2 separate regions of the Homo sapiens genome follow, and region 1 is linked to region 2. The links are contacts of gene promoters, found by promoter capture Hi-C in human tissues and cell types (Jung and others, 2019). All regions are on one chromosome and are shown on one strand. The core of a region is centred on a gene start or on the middle of the fragment in contact, and the rest is flanking DNA. Distances in the headings are between cores, read along the strand shown. Region 1 has its middle 12 kb from the start of TUBA1C. Region 2 holds the start of TUBA1A (tubulin alpha 1a).

Evidence for each region. Contacts are between HindIII fragments. The study calls those that stand out against the background at their distance.
Region 1: a fragment that was not itself captured here is called in contact with the fragment with the promoter of TUBA1A in region 2 in 4 of the 25 tissues and cell types used here (bladder, heart right ventricle, mesenchymal stem cells and 1 more).

What each region holds. Positions count from the first base shown.
Region 1 is chr12:49,252,168-49,254,867 of GRCh38, reverse strand. It overlaps a transcript of TUBA1C not described here. Among named protein-coding and RNA genes, the nearest start is that of TUBA1C, 12 kb to the left of the region's middle. The HindIII fragment of the contact is 5,325 bases long and covers 1-2,700 here.
Region 2 is chr12:49,187,671-49,190,370 of GRCh38, reverse strand. It overlaps TUBA1A (tubulin alpha 1a), which reads left to right and starts at 1,291. Exons shown (of 4, transcript NM_006009.4): 1 at 1,291-1,394. The coding sequence starts at 1,392. RefSeq lists enhancers at 1,403-1,522, 1,021-1,612. The HindIII fragment of the contact is 17,236 bases long and covers 1-2,700 here.

The DNA of each region.
Region 1 (2,700 bases), core at 132-2,631, 64 kb before region 2:
TTTTGTACTAATGAGGGTCTCTTGGTGTCTTGCTGGATAGCTTCAGGATAGGGTCTGGTCACCAGAAAGACAAAGTCATGACTAGAAGCTTGAAAATTTAGCCACATCCCCCATCCTCCAGGGAGGGGAGAAGGACTAGGGATTGAGTTAAAAACTGATCATGCCTACGTGATGAAGCCTCCATAAAAATCCCTAAACTACCGGGTTCCCAGAGTTCCAAACTGGTAAACAAGAACATATCCACTTGCAGGAGGGTTGTGCACCCCAGCTCCACTACACTCAAAGGACAGAAGCTGCTGCACTCAGGAGCCTTCCATACCTCACCCTATATATATCCTCATTTGACAATTCATTTCCCGTTTTTTTTTTTTTTTTTTTTTTTTGTTTAGATGGAGCCTCGCTCTGTTGCCCAGGCTGGAGTGCAGTGGCATGATCTCGGTTCAATGATGCAGCTTCCACTTCCCAAGTTCAAGTGATTCTCTGCCTCAGCCTCCTGAGTAGCTGGGATTACAGGCGTGCACCACGACACTCGGCTAATTTTTTCTTTTCTCTTCTTGAGATGGAGTTTCACTCTTGTTGCCCAGGCTAGAGTGCAATGGCATGATCTTGGCTCACCGCAACCTCCAGCTCCCGGGTTCAAGCGATTCTCCTGCCTCAGCCTCCCGAGTAGCTGGGATTACAGGCATGCGCCACCACGCCCGGCTAATTTGGTATTTTTAGTAGAGACGGGGTTTCTCCGTGTTGGTCAGGCTGGTCTCGAAATCCCGACCTCAGGTGATCCGCCTGCCTCGGCCTCCCAAACTGCTGGGATTACAGGCGTAAGTCACCGCACCCGGCTCCCCTTCCTGCTTTTATCCTGTCTTCTATCTCTGTAGGGCTCCCCGTCCCTGATTTTATTAATACTAGTCCTATCCACCTGTGCCCCAGTTCTGTATTCCTGCTCACAGTCTCTGGGATCTTGCTTCATAATTTAACCCTTTTTCTTGACCCTTCACTTTCTTTTGTTTAGACAAATTGGGACTGAACTCTAGTTTCAGTACCAGTTTGAGTTACTGTTCAAATAAAATTATAGGCCACTTTGGGAGGCAGAAGCAGGAAGATCGCTTGAGTCCAGGAATTCAAGACCAGCTTGGACGACATAGTGAGACCCTGTCCCTACAAAAAAATTTAAAATTAGCATGGTGTGGTGGTACATGCCTGTAGTCCCAGCTACTGGGGAGGCTGAGGTGGGAGGATCGCTTGAGCCCAAGAGCTCAAGTTAGCCATGTTGGTGCCACTGCACTCCAGCCTGGGCAAGAGTGAAACCCTCTCTCAAAAATAAAATGAGTATCCCCTCCCCACGCCCCCTCCCTTCATGATTTCAATTTTAAGCATCCCACCGTCCAACCACAACCTCCCACTTTTTAGCTCTACGAAACCAGTACCCACAACCCTTCTACCTAACTGGGACTTACAAGACATTGACACGCCCACGTGTGCACTGTCCTCTATTCCGCTACATCCTCAGGTCTCCTTCCATAGCTTCCACCGTAGCTTACACCTACCAACTCTCATGCTTTATTTTCTTGTTTGTGCTCACTTAGCAAAACCGAATAACCTGATTAAATCTAACTCTGCCTACTCCATGCCTGCAGGCATGGCTGTGGTATGCCGAGAGTTCCATTTAAAGTTCATGACTACTAACCTCCAGCGGGTTTATATTGCTCAGCAGTCATCCGGAATTTCCCTTAATTTTTCACTTTCCCACTCTCCTGAAAGTCTTTTTTTTTTTTTTTTTTTTTAAGATAGGGTCTGGCTCTGCTACCCAGGCTGGAGTGCAGTGGTGCTGCAATCTTGGCTCACTGCAACCTCCACCTCCCGGGTTCAAGGAATTCTCCTGCCTCAGCCTCCCCAAGTGGCTGGGATTACAGAGGCCTACCACACTTGACTAATTTTTGTTTTTGTTTCTGTTTTGTGATGGAGTCTCCCTCTTGTTGCCCCAGGCTGGAGTGCAATGGCATGATCTCGGCTCACCGCAACCTCCGCCTCCCGGGTTCAAGTGATTCTCCTGCCTCAGCCTCCCGAGTAGCTGGGACTACAGGCGCCCGCCACCATGCCTGGCTAATCTTTTGTATTTTTTCAGTAGAGACGGGGTTTCACCATGTTAGTGAGGATGGTCTCGATCTCCTGACCTCGTGATCCACCCGCCTCGGCCTCCCAAAGTGCTGGGATTACAGGTGTGAGCCACCGTGCCCAGCCAATTTTTGTATTTTTAGTAGAGATGGGGTTTCGCCATGTTGGCCAGGCTCTAAAAGTCTTTTTGTAATATCTTCTTCACTGCCCTCAACTTCCCCCAAAGCTTCTCCCTATTCTCACTCTCAGTTCATGACTTTTCACCCTTATTCACTGAGAAAATAGAAGCAGTCAGAAAAGAATGTCCACAAGCCCCTACTGCTATGTCTTCCATGTTAAAATATAATTTTGAAAAAGTTAAGATTATGACTGTCATACAAATATAGAATAAACATCAAGTTTTATTAACTAAAGGAAGCAGTAAAATGGTCAAGCTGGTGAAAAGAGCACTTGAAGAGCAGGAATTTACATATTTTATTAGGAAAGACACTTAAAATTTTATTAGAATAAAATTTATAGATAGATACAAAACTGGTTAATGCCTTACAGAGCAAAAACATCCTAACCTGTGCATCTGGTTTCTGCCAC
Region 2 (2,700 bases), core at 42-2,541:
TTGCTGAGAATGGAGGCTTCCTAAATATCAAGATAATTTTACTCCAATTTATTTCCTAGGGGTGAAAGCAAAGCCTTTTTGTCCCAAGGGACAACTGAGCAACCACCAGAGTCTCTAGCTGAACAGCAAGGGTGTGAGGCCGGCTAAAATTCCCACAGTTAGAAGCCCACTCGCAGGAGGATATTTACCAAATTGACATAAGAACTACATAAAAAGGAAATGCGTTTATTGAGCTGATGTTTCACAGTTGTCTGTGGATGGAGGCGACATTGCAAAATTCTTTTTACATTATATTATTCTCTTCTTCTTTTTAATTTGGTGTATTGGTTATTACTATTATTTTGCTTGTTACTTTCCAGACAAAAGTCCAATTCAGATATGTAACTGCACACATGTAGTACTAACTTCTGAGCTCAATTATTTCTCCTTGTATTTTCCCAATTTTCTATCAGGAAAGATGATTCATTCCAAAGGACAATGTACCATACAAAATGTGTTACATAGACTTCTCATAAAAGAATACCTCTAGTAAACCATTATAACTACTCTACGTTCACTTGCTCTTGATTATTGCCATGTTAGAACTATTTGTTCGCTTCTTTATTTAATATGGTTATTCTTTCCATCTTCCAGTTTTGTTTAGCTATTCGGGTGTGCGTGTGCCTGCAGAAGAAGCTCTGAAAATAAGTTAGTTGAACCTGAGAAACCATTTGGAATGACCGTATGGCTAAATCTTTTTTTAAATTAAAAAAATCACATATACCCAGGCCATTTCGAGCATCATGCCGATTTTCCCTCCCACTTTACGTTTAAAGCAATTAGAGATGTTGAACCCTAACAAAATGTAGTCGAGTTTAATATACTACGAGGGAGGGGCTGGCAGTCATTTTCCTTTAAATATTTAATCTAAACATAAATTGTTATTAAGGGTAGGGGGAAAAAACCTCACATAGATAATTTTAACTGCAGTTTGAGGTTTAAGCAACAGAAAGTCTTCTAACCCCAGTCCCCTTTCTTCTCCTTCCGCCCCTCCCCAACCCCGCCCCATAATGGATGCTCGGCCGACTGCTTCTGCACGGTCTCTTTGTCTAAAGGATGCAAACAGTCTACGGATGCTAGAGAAAAAGGGGTGGGGGAGAGATTACCTCATCCCACGTCGCTTGCACCAATCACCAGTCTCCTGTCATGGCTTCTCTGGGCAGATTGGGGGTCTGGACCAACAGGAAAAGGCCCCGGCCCATCCCCATGGTGACCGAGTTGTATATAGGGAGCCGCATCCGCCTATGTGCCGCAGGTTCTCTTACATCGACCGCCTAAGAGTCGCGCTGTAAGAAGCAACAACCTCTCCTCTTCGTCTCCGCCATCAGCTCGGCAGTCGCGAAGCAGCAACCATGGTGAGAATCGGCTTCGGCTCTTTGTGGCCGTTGGGTGGAGTCAGCGCCCCCAGGCTCTACTTGGAAAACCTTTAAGCTCTTTTCTTTCGTAAGCTCTCTGGGCGAGGGTGGTGGTATGTTTTGTGAGGTTTAGCTTAGCCCCAAATCCTCAAGCCCCGCCGCCGCCGCAGTGCGGGTGCAGGAACCGGGCCAGTACTGCGCCCAGGGCGCAGCAGAGCGCTGGGGAGGAACAAAGGCGGCGCCTAGGCGCCTGTGTTATCCGAGAGACTTTCGGGGGCCGCGGGCAGCCCGTCTGCCGCGACCGAGGGGTCTGGGGCGTCCCGGCTGGGCCCCGTGTCTGTGCGCACGGTTTCGCTGATGCTGAGGGGCCACTTTCTGTCTCGCGTTGTTCTCTGGGGACCGGGAGAGGAGGAGGCACCCAAAAAGAGCGGGGGCGTTGGGCGAGCTGGGGGACGTGGGAGGGGGAACGGGAACAAAGCGCAGCCTAGGGTTAGCGTGGGAAGACCCTCCGCGGTCTTTGGCGTTTTGGAAAGATACCCACACATTCCCGGGAAAACATGGTGAGTTTCTGCCGGAGCCCCCGGCAGCGGGTGTCAGGGCGGCGCAGGGGCGGGGTTGTTTGTTTCTGGCTTCTATGGCGTTGGAGCCACTGGGCGGGGTTCGCCCTCACTGAACCTCTTCTGTCAGGAGCTGACTGAAAAAAAAACAAAAAAACCTTTCATCATTGCGGAACTGTAGGCTCCAAAAGGGTTTTCTTCACTATTATAAGTTAGATGACTTTTTTTTTTCTTGAGCAAAATCATAATTCACTTCACAAGCTCTTTAATGTCTGGTCTGGGGACGCCCTGCCCTGACCGACTGAAGTGTGTGTGTGTGTGTGTGTGTGTGTGTGTGTGTGTCTGTGGGACGCCCTGCCCTGACCGACTGAAGTGTGTGTGTGTGTGTGTGTGTGTCTGTCTGTCTGTCTGGACTGCACGTTCAGCGAGGGAGAAAGCCCACTTTGTGAGCCCCAGGGTACCCTGATGGTCAGGACCCAGGGAAACGCCCTTCCCCGCCGCCCCCCCGCCCCGCCCCCACCACATCAGCGAATAGACAATGAAAGTGGTAGCCCTAAAGACCACAGAGAAGAAAACCTCTATTGGATGCAAAGAATATGAATATTATGTGATGGGTAGAGAATCTCAGGATGAAAATACTATTTTGTTGTTTTAAATAAATATTTCATTATCCTTCCACTGGGCTTTTATTCTTTGGTACCTTTTCATGTGATGCTTGTTTCTAACTTAGGAACTTTTGTGTGTGTGTG